Linked DNA regions of Homo sapiens: region 2 is linked to region 1. Evidence: promoter capture Hi-C in human tissues and cell types (Jung and others, 2019). All regions are on one chromosome and are shown on one strand. Each heading gives the region's core, a stretch centred on a gene start or on the middle of the fragment in contact. The rest is flanking DNA. Distances are from core to core; before and after follow the strand shown.

The links. Contacts are between HindIII fragments. The study calls those that stand out against the background at their distance.
Region 2: a contact is called between a fragment that was not itself captured here and the fragment with the promoter of PDCD5 in region 1, in 1 of the 25 tissues and cell types used here (dorsolateral prefrontal cortex).

The regions. Positions count from the first base shown.
Region 1 is chr19:32,578,903-32,584,602 of GRCh38, forward strand. PDCD5 (programmed cell death 5) reads left to right here and starts at 2,288. Exons shown (of 6, transcript NM_004708.4): 1 at 2,288-2,425; 2 at 3,293-3,330. The coding sequence starts at 2,360. RefSeq lists an enhancer at 1,738-1,827 and silencers at 2,038-2,767, 2,113-2,289. The HindIII fragment of the contact is 5,718 bases long and covers 1-3,622 here.
Region 2 is chr19:30,703,436-30,709,670 of GRCh38, forward strand. It overlaps a transcript of ZNF536 not described here. Among named protein-coding and RNA genes, the nearest start is that of ZNF536-AS1, 36 kb to the left of the region's middle. The HindIII fragment of the contact is 5,215 bases long and covers 1,215-6,235 here.

The DNA of each region.
Region 1 (5,700 bases), core at 1,038-3,537:
ATCTCTTGACCTAGTGATCTGCCCTCCTCAGCCTCCCAAAGTGCTGGGATTACAGGAGTAAGCCATCGCACCTGGCCTAGAGTAGACATTTCTCTAAAGAAGATATACAAATGGCCAACAAGCACATGAAAAGATGCTCAACATCACTAATCGTTAGAGAAATGCATATCAAAACCACAACACCTCACCTCATACCCGTTAGGATGGTTACTATCAAAAACAATCAAAAAACAAACAAACAAAAAAACAGAACACAACAAATATTGGTGAGGAGACGGTGAAATTGGAACCTTCATTCACTGTTGGTTGGAATGTAAAATAGTGCAGTTGCTGTGGAAAATGGTATGGCCATTCCTCAACACAGAATTATCACATTATCCAACAATTTCTCTTCTGGGTATATATCCAAAAGTGAAAGCACAGACCTGAACAGATATTTCTACACCCATGTTCATAGCTGCATTATTAATAATAGCCAAAAGGTGGATGCAACCTAAGTGTCCATTGTCAGATGAATGGATAAACAAAATGTGCTAGGTATATCCATACAATGGAATATATTCAGTCTAAAGAGGGAAAGAAATTCTGCCACATGCTACAACATGAATGAACCTTTAAGACATATGCTAGGTGGAGTAAGCCAGTCACAAAAGGACAAATATTGTATGATTCCACATATACAAGATACCCAGAATAGGCAAATTCATAGAAACTAGAATGAGAATGGGTGGAGACTGATTATTATTCTCAGACCCCTCCCACCCCCACCCATTCCCATTAGAGGCCCCTCACACCAACCTAAATCTTTACTGGGTAGAGTTCCAGTTCAGGATGATAAAAAAAAAAAGTTGTAGAGATTGATGGTGGACAAGGTGGTTCATGCCTGTAATCCCAGCACTTTGGGAGACCAAGGCAGGTGGATCACTTTAGGTCAGAAGTTCGAGACCAGCTTGACCAACATGGTGAAACCCCATCTCTACTAAAAAATACAAAATTAGCCGGGCACAGTGGTGCACGCCTGTGGTCCCAGCTACTTGGGAGACTGATGCAGGAGAATCGCTTGAACCCGGGAGGTGGAGGTTGCAGTGAGCTGAGATTGAGTGACAACTGCACGATAATGCATTTCATACCACTGAAAAGTACACCTAAAAATGGTGAAAATGGTAAATTTTGTATTGTGTATATTTTGCCACAATTAAAACACACAGGCCAGGTGTGGTGGCTCATGCCTGTAATGTTAGCAGTTTGGGAGGCTGAGGCAAAAGGATTGCTTGAGCTCAGGAGATAGAGGCCAGCCTAGGCAACATAGCGAGACCCCATCTGTATTTTTTTAATGTAAAAAATAAAATAACACACACACAGACAAACAAACAGAATCTGTATGAGTCACACGTTTAGGTAGCTGAATATCCTCTCTGCCCCCAATTCCCCCAAGTCAAAGGCAGAAGGGATTTGTTCCACCAAAGAGTTTACACCAGCCACAGCTGCCCACTGCAGTATCCTCCCAGGAAAAGCCCTTTTGTGCGTGGAGGAGGCAGATGGCGAGGAGGCAGATGTGCACTTTTTTTTTTTTTTTTTTTTTTTTTAGAGACAGGGTCTGGCTGTGTCTCCCAGGCTGGAGTGCAGTGGCGAGATCAAGGCTCACTGCAGCCTCGAACTTCCGGGCTCCAGCGATCCTCCTGACACAGCCTCCTGAGTAGCTGGGACTACAGGTGCACATCACCGCGCCCAACTAGTTTTTTAAAATTTTAGTAGAGATAGGCTCTTGCCATATTGCCCAGGCTGGTCTCTAACTCCTGACCTCAAATGACCCTACCGCCTCCCGAAGCGTCGGGACCACAGGCGGCGAGCCACCGGCCGGCCTCTGTGTGCACCGAGGAGCCGGGCAGCCACCGCCACGATCCAGCTTTAGGACATTTCCATCACCCCACTCAGCCTTCCTGCGCCCCTGGTTCCTCATCTATAAATAGAGATAATATACGCCTAACCCTCTAGGTCACCAGCACATTGCACCCATAATTATTATACTTGTTGATGCCACACTTTCAGGTTTTAACCTTTCCAAAGCGCAGCCCCGCCCCAGCGCAGCCCAAGTCCCTGCACGCAGAGGCGCCGATCACGGGTGGGAGGTGGATCCCGGAGGCCCCGCCCCAGGCCCCGCCCCTCCGTGCGCCCAAGCTCGACCGCCTGAAATCGGGGAATCGGGCCTCTGCCGGCGCCCTGGCAGCGGCGCGGGGCGTGGCTCCGGGCTGGATTGGTGGCGCCTGGGCCCCGCGAGCGCCTGCGCAGTGGTCAAGGCCGCGCTCGCGCCGAGGGGCTGCGAGAGTGACCGCGGCTGCTCCAGCGCTGACGCCGAGCCATGGCGGACGAGGAGCTTGAGGCGCTGAGGAGACAGAGGCTGGCCGAGCTGCAGGCCAAACACGGGGTGAGCGCATCAGCCCCCGCCAGGCTTGGCCCTCGCGGGGCGCCGCCCTCGCCCGGAGTGTAGGGCGCGCCTCCGGGGCGGAGGCTCTGGGCGCCTCCCCGGGGCCCCGGTCCCCTGCGCTGCCCTGGCGGCCTCGTGGCCGGCTCAGAGGTGGCCTCGTCGCTTTCCTCGTCGCGAGGGGCCCAGGAGGCTGGCGGCGGGGGCCGCCACGTGCGGGACCTGCCCTGGCGTTGGGGTGTGGGGTCCCCTAGCCTGGAGCGGGCTCGTCCTGGCGGGCCTGGATCCAAGCACAATCTCAGCTTTTGGAGCCAGCAGCCGGACCGAATTCAGTTTTTCCGGAGTTCAGTTGTTATGACCCAAGTTTAGCCGACAGGTATTGAGGGTCCGCTGTGTTCCCGGTGCTGAGAGCGCGGCAGGGTCGGAGGAACGCTTGCCCCGCCGGGATGACAGGGAGGGGCCGCCTGGGAAGCTTGGATGGATCACACGCCCGGAGAGGCGTTTCTGATAAGGGACCGGGACCTTAGGGACGGAGGGCGCAGTCTTTGAGTTATCGTTGTCCCTAATACCGAGGCCCGTTTTATTTTCCAGAAATTATTCCTACATGTGAAACACGGTTTCGTAATACAGGGATTCCCCTCCCCAGGGTGCTCTGTATTCCAAAGCCTTCTGAGGTTGTGGTTTTAGACGTTCATCAAAACGTTGTAAGTGGGAACTAGTTCATTGATTTCTGTGAGGCCCAGTTTCTTATTTGGGGAGTTGTTTCTACCACCGCAAGAGACTGTTATGTATAGGAAACAACAGAACCGTTCCTTTTTCCCGCCGCCTCCCGTGAAATTTCTCTATTAAATTTAAGTTTTTTTTTTCCAGGATCCTGGTGATGCGGCCCAACAGGAAGCAAAGCACAGGTATGGGCTGGAAACGTGAACTTTTTGAAGGGTGGTTTCACCAAATGGATTTCTTTTGCTGTAGTTATTTTAAGCAGGTGTGTGACTCAGATTTTTTTGTTTTGCTGGAATGGTGATTTGGCCAAAATCATCCGCAGGGTATCTTCATTATTGTTAAATAAACACGTGTGCAGCTCCACATCAGACCTTGTATTGCAATTACTGGTTGATGTTTCTCTGCTACAATGTGAGTACCTTAAAAATGAGCCTGATAATAGGCAGCTGTGGCAGTTTCCTCGGCTGTGGGGGTGACGTGAGTCCGGTGCCTCACTTAGTAAGTGCTCAATAAGTGTTAACTGGTAAGCTATTCTGATTGTTTTATCCCAACACAGCGCACAGCACCTGAGACAGATGCAGGTAATTGATTCGGTGGCAGGTTTATTGAATGAGTATGTGATTACCCTATCATGCTATCATTTTTTAAAAATTGTGGTTAAATAAAATTTCACCATCACAACCATTTTTAAGTGTGCTCTTCAGTAGTGTTCACACTCTAGAATGTTTTCATCTTGCAAGACTGAAACCTTTAGCTACTGGACAATTCTCTATTTCCCCTTCCTCACCTTCTTACTCCTCCTCTCCAGCAAATATTTATAGAGCACCTGCTCTGGGTCAGGCACTGTGCTGGGTCTACAGAAATAGGAAGGGAGGGTTCGGGAGAAGACAGACGGTGAGAAGTATCTGGAGTAGTGATAGGAAGTAAAACGACGCAAATTTCATTGATTTCTGCCGTGTACATCTTTTCATTGTCACATATCTGAAATCAGGATGCCTTTTAAAACAGATTGCTCTTGCCCCAGATTCTTCCAGAGGGGATTTACTTTTGACTCTGCTATCACTTGAGTACATTTCTGAGACCATTGAAAGTTAAATTCTCTGCTTGAGGTTTTCCCCTGCCTCCTGCCTAGTAGTGTGAATTCAGACAGCAACCCTGTAAGACTGAACTTTTTTCTTCTTTACGTCAGGGCCAGGTGCATGCAAGCTTTTGTACTGCCCCTTACTGCATGGCATATTTATTTATTCTTTACTTTGTACTGAGAATGTTGCTCTTTGATACCCCAGTGGTGGGATCAGAACTCACTGCAGCCTCAAACTCCTGCTGGGCTCAAGTGATCCTCCCACCTCAGCCTCCTGAGGAGCTGAGATGACAGGCGTGCACCACCATGCCTGGCTAATTTTTTTAAACTTTTTTTTTTTTTAATAGCCTCGCTATATCACCCAGGCTGGTCTCAAACTCCTGGCTTCAAGTGATCCTCCCACCTTGGCCTCCCGAGAAACCCCAGTTTTGAATGGAGATCTCTATTAGACCTCTCATTTTAGGGTTTTTCATTTTTAGAGATACGTAAAACTATGGTGTATCTTAGAATTGATGGCATCTTAGGGTTCTGTGATATAATAGTTTGTGGCAGGCCAGGTGTGGTGACTGAAGCCTGTAGACCCAGCTACTCAGGAGGCCGAGGGGGAAGAATCACTTGAGCACAGGAGCTTGAGCTGATCATAGCTGCAGTGAGCTGTGATTGCACCACTGTACTCCAGCATGAACAGCAGAGTGAGACCCCATCTTTTTTTATTGTTGTTGAGATGAAGTCTCACTCCATCACCCAGGCTGGAGTGCAGTGGCACAATCTTGGCTCACCGTAACCTCTGCCTCTGAGCTTCAAGCGATTCTCCTGCCTCTGCCTCCCAAGTAGCTGGGATTACAGGCACCCGCCACCATGCCCGGCTAATTTTTGTATTTTTAGTAGAGATGGGGTTTCACCATGTTGGCCAGGCTGGTCTCAAACTCCTGACCTCAAGTGATCCACCCACCTCAGCCTCCCAAAGTGCTGAGATTACAGGCATGAGCCACCATGCCTGGCCTAGACCCCATCTCTTAAAGTTTGTGGCAGGGCTGCAGTACTCAAACCATAAAGAAGTGGCCTATGGAAATGAGCTTTAAGCCACATTCCATGAACCGAAGGGCCTCTGAGCTGGGAGTGGATAGTGGGCACAGCCAGCCCCAGCTCTCCCTCTCAGTTGAGCCAAAGCATCTGTGCTCATTTGTTTTTAGATTTCTTAAAGGATTTCATTTGAAAGAAAAAAGAAACAAGTCCATGAGACCACTGTCCTGTGAACGTGAACTACTTTCTATTTGGGTAGGTAGGAAGAAGTGAGGATAGTTGCAAAGTTATAATTTCATTCCCCTTCCCCACCCAGAAAAATAGAACTGAGAGTCTTAAAACATGGAATCTGGCTGTAGCTTGGCCACAGTTACCTATGTCTCTTTAGCATAGCCTCCTGGATCTCAGCTTTATCTCTAAGAAAATGATATAGATTAGTCACATGGTCCTT
Region 2 (6,235 bases), core at 2,572-5,071, 1.9 Mb before region 1:
CTTCTGGCAAGAGGCCTCACCCACATCAAATTCTATCTCACATTTGCTGAACTTTCTCCCAGTGAAATGCACCTGTTAACAACTTGTTCCTTTGGGCTTTGAAGGTCCTCCGGTTTCCCAGATCCCCCATTCAAATGCCTATGCCCCAAAGAGAGACAGTCCCTTAAGCTTTCATGGTGCTACCTGCGGCAGGAAGCACAGGACAGTGGCACAGGAAGCACTTGCTAAGTCAGTACTTTCGATGAAGAACCAGGCAGAGCTTCCCCTGAGTCAGCTTAGATCAACAGCAGGATGACAGCAGCAGCCGTGCCAATCACCAGCAGCCGACATCTTGGAGTTCTTCGTCATTTACCAATGTGTCACATGCCATCATCTGATGCTCACAGCACTCCTGTGATATAGTGTCAGTATTATTGCATCATTATCAAGGTGTGGAAATGGAAGCCTTGAGTTCTAGTGGTTGCCCAAGGTCAGAGAGAGAGAAGATTGAAGTTCAGGGTGCTAGTAGCTTAGCAGCCTTACAAAAGAGGGAAGCAGTGGTAGGAACCCAAGCTCCTCAGTCCACTGGGGAGAAGGAGTGCCCTGAAAGTAAAGCAAAGGTGCCAGAACAAGAGAGCTCTGGGTCTTCCTATTTGACCAAAGGCCATCCTGGAGTGTGGTGCTTCTTAGCAAGTTCAACTTGGGAGAGGCTATCGCCTTGATGCTCTCTCCAATGGGGAGCTGGCAGGAGTGGGTGTTATTCTCTTCAGTTCCGCCACAATGGAAGCCTGCTTGACCCAAGTCTGTCTTAATACTTATTCTGCATCTTCAACATTGATGGACATTAGCATCTTCCTTACACCTCTAGGAATCCCCAAATCTAGGTCCAGTCAACTAAGATGGCACAGGCAACATGGCTGGTCTTTTGTTTCATTAAAAAGAGATAGATGGGCTGGGCACAGTGGTTCACGCCAGTAATCCCAGCACTTTGGGAGGCTGAGGTGGGCGGATCACCTGAGGTCAGGAGTTCGAGACTAACCTGACCAACCTGGTGAAACCCCACCTCTATTAAAAATACAAAAATTACCCGGGCATGGTAGCAGGCACCTGTAATCCCAGCTACTTGGGAGGCTGAGGCAGGAGAATGGCTTAAACCCGGGAGGCAGAGGTTGCAGTGAGCTGAGATCGTGCCATTGCACTCCAGCCTGGGCAACAAGAGTGAGAGTCCATCTCAAAAAAAAAAAAAAAAAAAAAAAGAGATAGATGGAAGTGAGCAGGCCACTGAGGGGCTGCCTTGTCACCTCTGGGACTGCAGCGGCTTCTCCTCTGGGGATGAGATGACCTACCTCCATCTAGAGAGATCTGACTTCTTCCAAACCCACAGCCCCCTCAGCAGGAATGTCTCGCGGTGTTGTTCCATGGGCCCCTCTTGCTGCTGCTGCCTTCAGGAGGGTCTCTGCTGTCAGAAATATGTGAAATCCACAGGGACGTATTCAGCAGAGCTCAGCACTTTTTTTTTTTTTTTCTGGAGCACTTGCTTATGTTCTCTGACCCAAAGCCAACAGATCCCAGTCTTATTATCATCAGGGGCTTTCACAGGGACAAATGGTAGAGAGACATTTGGAACTTTTTATCCAGATTTACTTGGACTCAGAAATGTGTCATGTCCAACAGTACTGTGCATAGCAACAGCTTTCTGTTTGGGAATAAATGTTCTCATCATCAAAAGATCAGGCTTTCAGTTATATTTGATTCTTGGGAAAATATAATGGCTTATTCCGGGCCTATCATAGCTTCTCCCAGTCAACTTCCCCAAGGGTGGGCCTTTCACTTCTTCATAGAACTTTCTTCCACATCAGTCTCATGGGAGCCTTTCAGCAAACAACTCAGAAAGATGTGTGTGTGTGTGTGTGTGTGTGTGTCTATAAACAATATTATGGATATAGAATAAAACGCATTGTAAATTGTGTATAAACTAACACATTATGTGTGTGTGTATGTGTGTTTGAGCCTATAAAAACACATTTTAATCACAGTCTTTGTAATAAGTTTAGAGAATGAGGGTGACTAAGTACTTTATATCCATTGGAAATTTGTTTTAAAGCCAAACCTTCTAGATTCACTGTATCTCAGCTCTCTCATCTGTACAATGGAGCTGATATCATCCCTTGGCAAAATTGTCCAAAGCTCAAATATGAGGATAAACATGCAAAAATGTATGTGAAAAACTGTGGAATGAAGGTCTTCAGGGTCTTTAGGTACTATCAGTATTATCTACAAAGCTTCTACTTACTAGATACACTGCAAGATCAGGATTTATTATGATTCTAGCATTGTATAGACTTCTTTCTACAAATGGATATGTGCATAGCTTTAGATGGATTTACATATAGATTTCCATCTCACCTAAGTGAAAATGAAACCAATTCAATACTAATGTTTTGACCAGTGAAGTATCCAAATCTGCCAGAATTATTATTATACATTTGGCTATTACCAAGAAACAGAGATTCAAAATATAACCATAGGATAAAATCATGATTAATATTTTAAAATCGATTGGTGGAAAAAAGGTACTAAGTGCTTTTATACCAAGTTGGCCAAATCAAAAAGGCTTTCATTGCAAATAAAGGTGATATCTGAGGTCCACATTTTAGTTTGCCAAGAGGCACGTTGCATCACTCCTGTGGCAGTATCATTTGTAGGGAGGGTGGCTTCCATGTAGCATAGGATTCATACGTGAAATTATTACTCAGTAATGTGACAATCGAAAGTACAATAGACAGTTGGCTGGGCGCGGTGGCTCACGCCTGTAATCCCAGCACTTTGGGATGCTGAGGCGGGTGGATCACGAGGTCAGGAGATTGAGACCATCCTGGCTAACACGGTGAAACCCCGTCTCTACTAAAAAAAATACAAAAAGTTAGCCGGTCGTGGTGGCGGGTGCGTGTAGTCCCAGCTACTCAGGAGGCTGAGGCAGGAGAAAGGTGTGAACCCGGGAGGCAGAGCTTGTAGTGAGCCGAGATCACACCACTGCACTGCAGCCTGTGCAATGAGTGAAACTCTGTCTCAAAAAAAAAAAAAAAGAAAGAAAATACAATAGACAGTTTTGCTGATGAACAAAAACAACTGAAGAATGGAAGAACTAGTGTCATCCTGGTAAACCGAGGCAGATTTATAAACAATAGTGAGGTTTGGTCGCTTTGTTTCATAGTGCTGCTGGCCTATTTGGATCATGGTACCAAGGGTTTTGGTTTTATTTTTTATTTTTACTTACTATTTGGAGTTCTTTACTCGAAAGACTTGTCATACGATAGTGACATTCTCCATCAATAAATTATTGCCATATAATGAATAAATGAATGACTTAGCCCTAGCTTTATCTGAGCCATGGTAATTAGGACAGTGGCCAGCCTTTGTCCATGAACTGCTACAGAGCTGCCCTTGGTAGAAACATAGAAAATACAGTCCATTTCAGAGAAGCTTTGGCCAAAGCCTCGAAACATTTCTCAGGTTTCCCGGTGTCTTGCTCCTTCTTTATGTTGTTTGGGATGACCTTCAATTGGCTTGTAGGCCTCCAGCTACAAATTGGGCCCGCCTTTTTCTTGCTTAATAGTGTCCATTTCAGAGTAGCTCGAACTCTCTCTCAGTGAGTCCTGGGCATAGCTTCGGGCCCACAGGGATGATAACTTAAAAAATTGGATGGCTGAATCTTGGGGGCTCTGTGTTGTCTCTAAGATGCTTGGCCAGGACGATCTACTTGGAACTCACTCATGCCCAGCTTAGTCCTGACTTAGATTCACCATTAAGGTACGGAGAATGGGTGTGGCTTTGCCCATCCCATTGCCTCTGATTGGCATCCTAATTCCATCCTTCAGTCTATGCCCTAACTCCCAGGTCATGAAGAACAGGGACCATTTGCATTTTTTTGTATAATCGAAAATTTGCATTGGAAATATGTCCCAGTTGTCCTTCGCCTCCCAACCCAGGGCCTTCCCTAGGTGACCAAGCCCTTAAGGTGAAAAGGGTGGCAAGACAGCAAATGGGCAGTCACCCTGGGGACTCCTTCTCTTACCTGGCAATCATGGCACTGGCCCCTCGTGCTAGCTGTGCTCTTCCTCCTGTGGTTGGCTGTCAGGAAGGGCCAACAGCAAGTGCACTGTTCTTGTACTTTATTTTGTTCTTAACTCCGAAGTCTGTAGATTTGCACATTGTCTTCTTGAAGTGGGAAGGTTGATGAAATTTAGCCTTGTCTTAGGGACAACAGTAGAAACAGAAGAAGCAGAAGCACTATCCAAAAATGTGTAATTCCTGGCAGGGCATGGTGGCTCACGTCTGTAATCCCAGCACTTTGGGAGGCCAAAGTGGGTGGATCACCTGAGGTCAGGAGTTTGAGACCAGCCTGGCCAACATGGAGAAACCCCATCTCTACTAAAAATACAAAAATTAGCTGGGCATGGTGGCTTATGCCTGTAATTCCAGCTACTCGGGGAGTCTAAGGCGGGAGAATCACTTGAACCCAGGAGGCAGAGGTTGCAGTAAGCTGAGATCATGCCACTGCATTGCAGCCTGGGTAACAGAGTGAGACTCCATCAAAAAAAAAAAAAAAAGAAAATCCAAAAATGTATAATTCCTTAGAAAAAGGCAAGGTGATACAAGAATATAATTAATAATTCCTGACTACCTGCTTTGTGCCAGGCACTGGGCTTGGCATTCATAACACTGAGATGGTCATGGTTCTTGCCCCAGGAATTCACGGCCTTTTTGGGAGGACCAGTACATACACTCAGGCCCACAAAGCAGGCATCCTGCTGATCAAAGCCTGAATAGAGAAGTGGGTTTGAGCCTGCAGAGAATGAAGTGGCATTTCAGAGAGAGGGTAGACAAGCAAGGGTATGGAGACACTGCACAGTGACGTCTATGTGCAGAGACCATCTGAGGTTTGGTTTGGTGTGGGCAAAAGGGGTTGTGCTGTAGCGTGGAATGGAAGGGTGTTTTAGGATTGAGCCATGAAAGTCCTGATTATTCCTTTGGAGGCCAGTGGCCATGAAAGATCTGGGGCAAATAAATCACAGGCTGAGCTTCTGCTTTAGGCACTCGCTCTGTTGTCCCTGGGGAGGACAGGCTGGCGGTGGGAAACTGGAAGCATGAAGGCCACCCGCGGGCTGCCATGTTCATAGTCTAGACAATAATTGGTACACACTGGACCTGGTTCTGAAGTCAGCATTGCAAAGGAAAAGATTCAACAGGTAGAATGGATTAGTCCTGGACACCAGTTGGTTATGAGGGAACAAAGAGGCAGTGAACTCCAGAAGCCCAACAAGAAGCAAGAATTTAGCACTGGGTGCAATTCAGTGGGAAAGTGAGCTTCTGCTTCCAACGTTGCATTGGATTCCTGTTTCTCAGGAACAAGACTGTTTTGCTAAATAGACGCAGGACTGCTATTACTGCTTTAGAAAAAGTGCTGAATATGTGTTTGCTTGTTCTCTGGAGCCAGTGATGGGGCTCTCCATTTATTTACTTGTTTATTTTTTTGAGCAAATGAAACCCAGCTCTGGGCCCTGACCTCTCTGAGTGCTGGGTGAAACAGCACATGAGAGCTTCCAGGAACGGCTCATCAACAGCTTCCCGGAAGCAGGGGAGATGCCATTGCTTCAGAATAACTTCCCCAGCCAGATGTTTTACCAGTTCCTCGAGATGGTAGAGTCTGTGCATGGCTGTGACGCATCAGGGTAGAGATGTTGCGCTTGGAGGATTAGGTGAACGTCCACAGGAATCCACCTCCTGTTCCAAATTACAGTCTTTCTAGGAAGGTTTCATTTCAAGAGTCACTATTCAAAATCTACCTTCTTTAAAACTCATGCTGGCCTTGATTACCTGTTCATCTTTCTCCTGGTCCCGACAACTTTCGCTGCTGCCCCTGAGACCCTCAGACTCTAGAAATCCCCCCAGCTCAGCCCTTCCAACTCTGCCTAAGAGCAAGACTCAGGTGACACCCCTCACTCACCCCACCCCCAAACACACGCTCCCTTGCCATTCTTGGTTTGCTCAACAATAAAGAGTCAACGGGAGGATCAGAACATGAGCTGGCTTTGCCCTGAGGCCTGAGTCAGACTCCCAGATGGAAGGATTTATGGTCTTTGTGCAGAATTGGGGTCAGCAAAGTGTAGCTCGTGGACAAAATCTAACTATTGCCTGGTTTTTTGTTTGTTTGTTTGTTCTTTGTGTTTGTGAAAGGGTCTTGCTTGTTGTCCAG